2 separate regions of the Homo sapiens genome follow, and region 1 is linked to region 2. Evidence: promoter capture Hi-C in human tissues and cell types (Jung and others, 2019). All regions are on one chromosome and are shown on one strand. The core of a region is centred on a gene start or on the middle of the fragment in contact, and the rest is flanking DNA. Distances in the headings are between cores, read along the strand shown. Region 1 overlaps PPIL1 (peptidylprolyl isomerase like 1). Region 2 holds the start of PI16 (peptidase inhibitor 16).

Region 1 (4,740 bases), core at 977-3,476, 94 kb before region 2:
AACATGTCAAAACAGGAGGCAACTTTCCTAACCAATACTAATCAATTATGTAGTCAATCATATGCCTTACTGAACTACATTGGTTTCTCCAAGTTGAACGGTCACGACAAAACAGCCTAGAACAAAGTAAACACTGGATTGGTACTCTGCTTGCCCTGCAGCCCAGTGCTGGCAGCTCACTTCCTCTACTGCCTGCTATAAAAGTAGCACCAAGTCCACCCCCAAGGCCCCTGGGCATGGCTAAGGTGTTTCCATGGCAAAAATCCTTTGCTTTACCTTTTAGTCGGCTTCACCACAGGGAGCCTGTCACAGCCCCCGTTTCTTTTCCGGAAGAAAACACTGTTCTCATGCAAAGAGGGATGGGGGTGAATCCTAACAGACTAGGGGAAACCTCCCACTTGGCCCAGGCTACCTATGCTTCTGGAAAAATACTGAACCACACTAAACTGTGTAAAACTCATTCCAAAAATTCCAACCTGTCAGTATACTTCCAAACAGCAATTATATAACCAATATGTTCCCTCTGACTCAATCCTCCCCTTTGCTTGGTCCTTTGGCAACCACTAGAGAGTCAAGGTTCCTGGCTGGGGTTACCAGAGACTAGGGAGAGGGCTGTGGGGCCAGACGCCACAGAGGCCAGGCTCTGCGTGCAGGACTTGAGTGAGCAAGCTAAGGATTCAGTTCAGTAGTACGCTGTCAGTCTGTGGCCTGAGCTTCAAAGTGTGATCCCTGCAACCTGAGGGCTACCAGAACAAACCCCCCAGGACCCTGCCCTCTAGGAATGGTAAACTATCACACAAACATCACCACAAACAAGAAGTGCATTAAGGAATAGGTCAGTCAAGAGTCACAGATGGGCTGGGCATGGTGGCTCACACCTGTAATTCCAGCACTTTGGGAGGCCGAGGCAGGCAGATCATGAGGTCAGGAGTTTGAGACCAGCCTGACCAACATGGTGAAACCCCATCACTAATAAAAATACAAAAATTAGCCAGGCGTGGTGGCACGTGCCTGTAATCCCAGCTACTTGGGAGGCTGAGGCAGGAGAATCGCTTGAACCTGGGAGGCAGAGGTTGCAGTGAGCTGAGATCGCACCACTGCACTGCAGCCCAGGCAACAGAGTGAGACCCTGTCTCAAAAAAAAAAAAAAAAAAAAAAAGTCACAGATGAAGTGGGAATCAGAGGATACAGGAGGAAAGAGCATGGAGATCACCTTTACTCAATAGGCAGAGTTTTCATAATATCTTACTCATAATATGTTATCTTTTCATAACCCAATTCAACTCAGTAGGGTTTGCGGCAAAATTTCAGAAAGACAAATCATTCTAATTCAAACATTCCTCTGGGCACGTGGAATAAGTGAGAGGTGGCAGAGGGACAGAGAATGATTAAAGAGTTCTCCAGTGCAGAGCATGCTACTCAGATGTCAATTATCAGTTAGAAAGCCAACAATTTGGAAGCTTTGCAGGTTCTGTGCCTGGTCTAGCACAGACACAATGAAGATAGGCAGACCTGTTTTCTATTGTGTGTGTGTGTGTGTGTGTGTGTGTGTGTGTTTTGAGACAGAATCTCACTCTATCACCAGGCTGGAGTGCAGTGGTGCGATCTCGGCTCACTGCAACTTCTGCCTCCCGGGTTCAAGTGATTTTCCTGCCTCAGCCTCCTGAGTAGCTGGGACTACAGGCGCCCGCCACCATGCCCAGCTAATTTTTGTATTTTTAGTAGAGATGGGGTTTCACCATGTTGCCCAGGATGGTCTCAATCTTGACCTCATGATCTGCCAGGCTCGGCCTCCCAAAGTGCTGGGATTACAGGTGTGAGCCACCACACCCGGCCAAGACCTGTTTTCTAACCTTTGATTACAGGTTAGAAAAGAACCTTCAAGATTCTTTTCTGGCCAGGTACAAGTGGCTCACACCTATAATCCCAACACTTTGGGAGGCTGAAGGGGGCGGATCTCTTAAGCCCAGGAGTTGAGACCAGCCTAAGCAACATGGTGAAACTCGTCTCTACAAAAATTAGCCAGGCGTGGTTGTGCGTGCCTGCAGTCCCAGCTACAGCTACTCAGGTGGCTGAGGTGAGAGGATCACTCAAGCCCAGTAGGTCGAGGCTAGAGTGAGCTGTGATTGCGCCATTGCACTCCTGTCTGTCTCCAAAAAAAAAGAGATTCTTTTCCTCTTCTGTCCTCTGTCCTCTCTTGGGATCATTTATTCAATGTATTTATTTCAGACACGCAAACATACAAAGAATAATATGACCAATATCTATGACCACCTCCGCCCCCAAGAAATAAACTATTGCAAATCCAGCTAAGACCCCATGCATACACCCCACTGCATCTCTCCCCACCACTCATTCTCCTGAGAGCTAACAGCTGATTCAAAGAATCACATTTTCCTCTCAGGTAACCACTATTCTGACAAGAATTTGGCATTTCCATGCATTTTCTTTTTTACTACACATATATGTATCCCTAAAAAAAAAAAAAAAAAAGTATTGCTGTTTTGCATGTTTTTAAGCTTTTTTACTACACATCTATGTACCCCTAAAAAAAAAAAGTATTGTTGTTTTGCATGTTTTTAAGCTTACATAAGTGGTATTACACTTTATATATTCTCAACACTGTTTGAGAGACTCATCTACTTTGTTCCAGGCAGGTCTCTGTAGTGTTCACCTCACTGTATGACCATAATGCTCTGTCTTATCTTTTCTGGTGTTGATACTGAGGATCTTTCCAATGTTTTGGTTATTATCGACCATGCTATAAAAACTATTCTTATACTGTCTCCGAAATCCAAGTGCAAGAGCTCTCGGGGGCCAATACCTCACAGGGGATACACAGGGTCATAGTTTGAGTATTTCATCATTGCTAGATTTTTCTAAGTGCCTTATTGAAAAGGATGAACCAACATGCACCCCACCCCGCAGCACTCTCACTCTTACTGCTCTAGGTCCTTCTGTCAGTCTGAGAAGTGTGAGACCTCTTGTGGTGTTTTAAACTGCATTTCTCTGAAGTTTGGCATAATTTCATGTTTACTGGCTTATTTAGCTTGTCCCCTCTGTGAACGGCCACTCAGTGGTATGACATTTTGGAATTGATACATACAGTCATCCCTTGGTATACTCAGGGGATTGGTTCCAGGATCCCTGTGACACCAAAATCCCTGCTCGCTCAAGTCCCGCTGTGGGCTCTGAGAAAACTGTATGGACCTCCATGGTTCAAACCCATGTTGGTAAAGGCTCAACTATATACTATAGATACTAATCCTCTGTCAGTGAATGTTTTGCAAATACCTTCTCCCAGTTAACTTTTTTCACTCTTGTAATGGGATCTTCCAATGAACAGAACCTTTGCAGTTAACATTTCTTAACCTTCTTCTTTATGATCTGTGTTTTTTTTTTTTTTTAATTCCTTTTTTTTTTCTGAGACAGAGTTTCGCTCTTGTGGCCCAGGCTGGAGTGCAATGGTGCCATCTTGGCTCACCGCAACCTCCGCCTCCCAGGTTTAAGCAATTCTCCTGCCTCAGCCTCCCGAGTAGCTGGGATTACAGGCATGCGCCACCATGCCTGGCTAATTTTGTATTTTTAGTAGAGACGGGATTTCTCCATGTCGGTCAGGCTGGCCTCAAACTCCTGACCTCAGGTGATCTGCCTACCTCGGCTTCCCAAAGTGCTGGGATTACAGGTGTGAGCCACTGTGCCTGGCCTGTGTTGTTTCTTAAAAACAAAACACAAAAAACCCTTTTCTCATCCCTGTGACTCCTGTGATGTCCCTTCCTCCTCCTCTTAGTCACTGTGGAAACCTGTCAAAATGATGTCTAAGGCATGGGACATGCAGTGTCTTACACCAAGATGACCACACTTGGTGCTACTTGTCCCCGCCCCTCCCACCCCACAGTTGATGGGACAATAGATTAATATCCAGCCCCACAGATGGGCAGTGGCCTATAAGGAGAGCCAGTGGGGCACCTGACACCAGAGGGCAACTGACCAATCAAAGCCTCTCTTCTGGCAAGAGTGCCTCTAACAGACACTGTCCGTCAGTAGTCTCCTGAGCATCCCCAGCCTCCTCCTCCACAGCCTGCCTCAACCTCAGAGACAAAAAAGGCAGGTGCTGACAAGTCCATTTTGCAGACAGGCGTGGCCAGATGACCCAGTTGTGACTTACTGATACAAACAGAAGTCGCTGAGTCAAGCTTCTGAGAAAGCTACAGCTTTCCTGATAAAAACAGACATACTCTTTTGTCCTTCATCTACAGCTCTTTCCCATCTTCCTTCTTTGAAAGTAGGGTGATGCCAGAACAGCAGCAGCCATCTTGCAACCATAAGACTAACAAGTTCAAGACCAAAGGCCAACACATTACGAATGAAGTGGGGAAAGATATGGCAAGCCTAGATCCCTGACAACTCTTCTGGGCTGGTGAAGAGATGACAATAACTGCTCACTTCCAGACGTTCTGTTGTGTAAGAAAAAACAGCCCGTGGGATTAGGTTTTCTGTTACTTGTAGCCAAAAGCAGTGCTACCTGACACAAACACTTTGTTAATATACCAGACGGGAACAATGCCACAGTCCTCCAAGGGGCTTTGTGGTTCTGAAGATGCTGTCTTCTCTTTCTCACTTGCCTTTGGGGTCAGAGACGTCTGGATTCCAGTTCTGACCCCACCAATTACTGTTTAACCTTAATCAAGACACTTTCTCTCCAAGCCTCAGTTCCCCTGTCTGCAAAATGGGAGTAGC
Region 2 (5,226 bases), core at 1,409-3,908:
GCCTCCCAGGTTCAAGCAATTCTCCTGCCTCAGCCTCCTGAGTAGCTGGGACTACAGGCGCCTGCCACCACACCCAGCTAATTTTTGTATTTTTAGTAGAGACGGGGTTTCACCATGTTGGCCAGGCTGGTCTCGAACTCTTGACCTCAAGTGATCCACCCACCTTGGCCTCTCAAAGTGCTGGGATTACAGGCATGAGCCACTACACTCTGCCCCCGAAAGTTCTTAATTTTAATGAAGTCCAATTTATTTTTGTTTTGTTGCCTATGCTTTTGGTGTCATATCCAAGAAATCCTTGCCACATCCAATGCCAAGAAGTCCCCCTTATATTTTCTTCTAAGAGTTTTGTAGTTTTAGCTTTTATGTTTAGGTATTTAATCCATTTTGGAGTTAATTTTTTAATATACTTACGGTAAAGATTCAACTTCATTATTTCGCATGTGGACATTCCAGTTTTCTAAGTCTTCTTTAAAAGACTTGCCTTTCCCTCGTTGAACGGTCTTGGTACCCTTGTCTAAAATCATTTGACCATATGTGTAAGAGTTTATTTCTGGGCTATTCTATTCCATTAGTCTAAATGTCTGTCTTTATACTAATACCACACTATTTTAATTATTGTAGATTTGTGGTTACATATTAAAATCAGAAACTGTAAGACTTCCAATTTTGTTCTTTTTCAAGATTGTTTTGACTATTTGGGGTCCTTTGAGATTCCATATAAATTTTAGGATGGATTTTTCTGTTTCTATAAAAATATTATGATTTGCATTTCAATAGGGATTGCATTGAATCTGTAGATTGCTTCAGGCAACATTGACACCTTAGCAATATCAAGTCTTCTAATCCATGAATATAGGATGACTTTCCATTTATTTGTGTCTTCTTTCACTTTGTTTGTCAACACTTGTGATTTTCAGCGTACAAGTCTTTTGCTTCCTTGGTTAAGTTTATTGCTAAGGGCCAGGCGCAGTGGCTCACACCTGTAATCCCAGCACTTTGGGAGACCGAGGCGGGCGGATCACGAGGTCAAGAGATCAAGACCATTTGGCCAACATGGTGAAACCCCATCTCTACTAAAAATACAAAAATTTGCCGGGCATGGTAGCAGCTATGGTGGGCAGCATGGTGGGCAAGTAGTCCCAGCTACTTGGGAGGCTGAGGCAGGAGAATCACTTGAACCCAGGAGGCAGAGGTTGCAGTGAGCCAAGATCATGCCACTGCACTCCAGCCTGGGTGACAGAGCGAGACTCCATCTCAAAAAAAAAAAAAAAGTTTATTGGTAAGAATTTTATTCTTTTTATTCTTTTTCATTGCTTTTATAAATGAAATTGTTTTCTTAATTTCCTTTTTGGATTTTTCATTATTAGTGTATAGAAACAACTAATTTCTATGTGTTAATTTTGTATCCTGCAACTTTGCTGACTTTATTAATTCTAATAAGTGTGTGTGTGTGTGTATGTGTGTGTAATCCATCTTGGTTTTGTTTTTATTTTTACTTGGAGACTCAGGCAGGGACAGGTTTTCTTGTCATCTTCCAAAGCCTGTGGGTAGACTTTTTCTAGGTCCCTATTCATTGAAGAAGCAGGCTTCAAGGATCCCAGCTGTCCTCAAGAGTACTGGTTCCAGCTTCCTGCTTCATGAACCGGTCATGGCCCCTGCAAGGTCAAGGTCATTATAATGCCAGCACCTGACTGCTAAGGCTATTTCCCTTCCAATACCTTCCCCTCAGAGCTCCTGGTGCATCAGCTCATTCAACCTTCTGCTTTTCTGCTCTCTCTTGATTTAAGAAACAGACACATTATATTTCTACATAGTTAGAGCACAGGGGTCCCAGCATCCCACTTCCAAATGAGCATGTCAAGCACATGCATTCAGAGAGGATACCTGGAAGCCAAAATTTTGCCATAGTGAAAGGCCTTATTCCTGAATACAGCTAGAGTGGGGAAGACCTTGGCCTCTCCCCCCGCAGGCAAGAATGTTGCCTCCACAGGGGGCTGGTAGCCTGCTAAGGCCCAGGCCACATGAGTGGGTTGTCTACTGTTACTGAGGGCCTACTATGTGCCAGACACCATACTAGGTGCTTTACATACATTATATGTCATTGAATCTTCCCTCTAGTCCTGTGAGATAGGTACTATTATTGTCACTGATTCACTTGAGAAAGCTGCCAAAACACAGATAGCAAGGGGCAGAACCAGGATTCTGATTTAGGTTGGCTCAGCCTTTTATCAAATACATCTGGTCTTCCTCTGTCCTTTCAAAAGCCTATAGCTTCCTCATCTTGCCCACTCCTCTGTGGGTAGGGTCTGTGGTTTCCTTTCTCTTATCTATCTTCAACACACAGTGGGTGTGACCTGGGTGCAACCAGTCACAGCTCTGCAGAGGTTACTGTGATTTTGCCCCTGAAGGATCTGTCCACAACTTAGGAACTCACACAGCTTTTGGCCTGAGCCCCCGTTACCAAGAGAAAGGAGGTTTTTGCCAAGGACTCCAAGGGGAGTGCACTTGATGCTGGTCGGGACCCAAAGCGCCCAGCCCTCCCTGAGACATTGTGTGAGTCGGGCTGGGCCTCAAACACGGCCCCCACTGCCCCACCCCAGCCAGGGTGGTGCTTGTGTGGGAAGGACTTTAAATCCAGCTGCCAGACCCCTGGACGGGAGAAGGAGAGACGGCTGGCCACCATGCACGGCTCCTGCAGTTTCCTGATGCTTCTGCTGCCGCTACTGCTACTGCTGGTGGCCACCACAGGCCCCGTTGGAGCCCTCACAGATGAGGAGAAACGTTTGATGGTGGAGCTGCACAACCTCTACCGGGCCCAGGTATCCCCGACGGCCTCAGACATGCTGCACATGGTAAGTGTGGCCACGGCCCTTGCTGGCTGGGATGGAAGGGGTGCTGGCCAGGGTCTGTCACCAGGCTCTCTTACCCTGCTCCTCATGCTGAAGCTATTTCAGAATTCCTCTCCTTTTTCTGGTCAGTGACAGAGTCCCCGAGTCCCTGACATGGTATTACATTACTTTAAATGGCAAAAACCACAATTACTTTTGCACCCGCCTAATAAAATTCACAGGCCCCTATAAGCAGCCTCATAATACAGATAAGGAAAGTGAGGCTCAGAGGGATTTGTTGGGGTCACACAGCTGGTAGAGCCAGACCCAAAGCCCTGGCTTCCCACTCCAATGAGCTTTCCCCAGCACTTCCTCAAATGCATGTGCCCTCAGTGGGGGAACCCGGGAAGTTCTTAACACCTTTGTGAAAACGGTCTTTCACATGCCTGCCAAGGAGAGGACAAGAGGAAGCAGGGCAGCAGGATGGGCGTGGGCACGTGGAGTAGGAGGCAGGTGCTAAGGAGGTGGGTGACAGCAGGATCCAGAAGCAGAGAGGGCTCTGGATCACACAGTCCAAATTCTGTCTCGGTCACCTACAAGACCTATGATTCGAGGCAAGTCCTGTAACCTTGCCGATCCCGTGTCTCATCTGTAAAAGGCGGTCAGAATTAGAGCTACGTATATACCAGTGTGGATTGAATCTCACAGATATCATACTGAATGGGGGAGGAAATAAAATCTCTAAAAAATACACAGTAGGATCTCTTTACATGAAGTCTGAAAACATGTAAAAATACTATTTATGTCCTGGTGAAACACGCAGATGTAGTAAACATTACATGTACATGCACACAGGAGACAGAAGCCAGATTTAGGGTTGGTTACTTCTGTCAGGAAGAGCTATTTATGGTAGGGTGAGAGGCGGGCTGTCTATATGCAGAATTAAAGGAGATAAAGTGAGAAATTCACCCACTTCCTGCCCTCCCTGAGGGCTGAACTAGCTTGTCCCCTCCAGCCACCCTCAGGTGACTGGGGAGGTTGCTGGGCAGTGTTCAGGGACCCCTGGAGCTGGTGCCTGAGAGAACAGATGCACCTTGGGGAACATAACAGTGAGCCTGGGGCCCCAAACCTAAGTTCTAACCTCAGCCTAATGTGATCTGGCTGAAGTAACTCTGGGTGGACCCCTTTCCCTTCAAAGGCCTCTGTTTCCAGATGGAAACATGGGGCTGGCGATCCCTGCCCTGGGCGTCAGACAGGATGACACGTAAGAAAGATCTAGGAAGAGCTCTGCACACACCCAGCACTGCCGTTCACAGCTGTGCCAGCCTGCACATCGAGGAAAGGTGGACAACAAACCAGGCGTCACAGATGCAGCTCTGCCAACAGCTCCCTGATTGAGGCCTGTGACTCATTGTTGGACTTCAGTTTCCCCACCTGTAGATCCCTGATGCCCTACAGTCTTGCTGGCTGAGACTGGGGGCCACACAGGCTGGGAGCTGCTTCTCAGACAGAGGTGCGCCTTGGAGTGGGGCAACATTCTGGGAGGCAGTTGGGATACTGAGGGGATATGCTGCTGCCTAATGGGGAGTGACATGAGGAGGAGGAGATGAGGCTGGGGCTGGGATGCCAGGAAACATTCAGGACAAGACTCAGGTTCAACCTCAGCAGTGGTGAGGGCAGGGACTCTGCAGCCAAATGGCCTGGGTTCAAATCTTAGCTTTGTTACTTATTAGCTTTGTGACCTTGGCCAAATTAAACTCTCTGTGCCTCAGTCTCCTCATCTGTAAAATGGGGATGATAACAGTGGGATAATTCCCTTGTAGCTACAGTGGTTGTAGGGTTAAGTGAGTGAATATGTGTAAAGCACTCAGAAGAATGCCTGGCACACAGTAAGTGCTCAGTAAGTGTCTGATTAACACAAAAGAGGGAATGGATCCAGGGTGAGGCAGGTGGGGGTTATCATGAACTCTTCCTTCTCTCTCAGCCTCCAGAGCTAATCAGCACCAGTTTTGCCACCCCGAAGGTTCAATTGTCCTTGAAATCTAACCCTTACCCCTACCCCCTTCTCTTTTCAGCACAATCCTGGTTCAGGTTTCTTTCATTCTTCCACACAAGGACTCCTAGGATAGCCTCTACCTGTTCCCCAGCTTCTGGCCTCTGCTGTCAGAATGAATAATCCAACACATGGGCCTGACCCTGCTCAAAATCCTTCAGTGGCTCCCATGGCTCCCTACTGCTTCAGGTTAAAGCTCCAGCTCCTGACTGAGAAGGTTCTGTGTGTTCTGGCCCCTGCCTATCTCTCCATCCTCCTCTCCCGCTTGCCCTTTATTCTTCTGTCACCTGAACAGCTTGTCTTTTCCCAGCCAAAATGTTTCCCAGCTTCATGCCTTTGCTGATG

Evidence for each region. The method cuts DNA at HindIII sites, captures the fragments that hold promoters and counts their contacts. A contact is called where the count stands out against the background at its distance.
Region 1: a fragment that was not itself captured here is called in contact with the fragment with the promoter of PI16 in region 2 in 8 of the 25 tissues and cell types used here (IMR-90 fibroblasts, aorta, dorsolateral prefrontal cortex and 5 more).

Annotation. Positions count from the first base shown.
Region 1 is chr6:36,858,289-36,863,028 of GRCh38, forward strand. All of the region lies in intron 2 of PPIL1 (peptidylprolyl isomerase like 1), which reads right to left. Among named protein-coding and RNA genes, the nearest start is that of PPIL1, 14 kb to the right of the region's middle. RefSeq lists an enhancer at 1,541-2,042. The HindIII fragment of the contact is 5,580 bases long and covers 1-4,740 here.
Region 2 is chr6:36,952,080-36,957,305 of GRCh38, forward strand. It overlaps PI16 (peptidase inhibitor 16), which reads left to right and starts at 2,659. Exons shown (of 7, transcript NM_153370.3): 1 at 2,659-2,852. The coding sequence starts at 2,682. The HindIII fragment of the contact is 39,732 bases long and covers 1-5,226 here.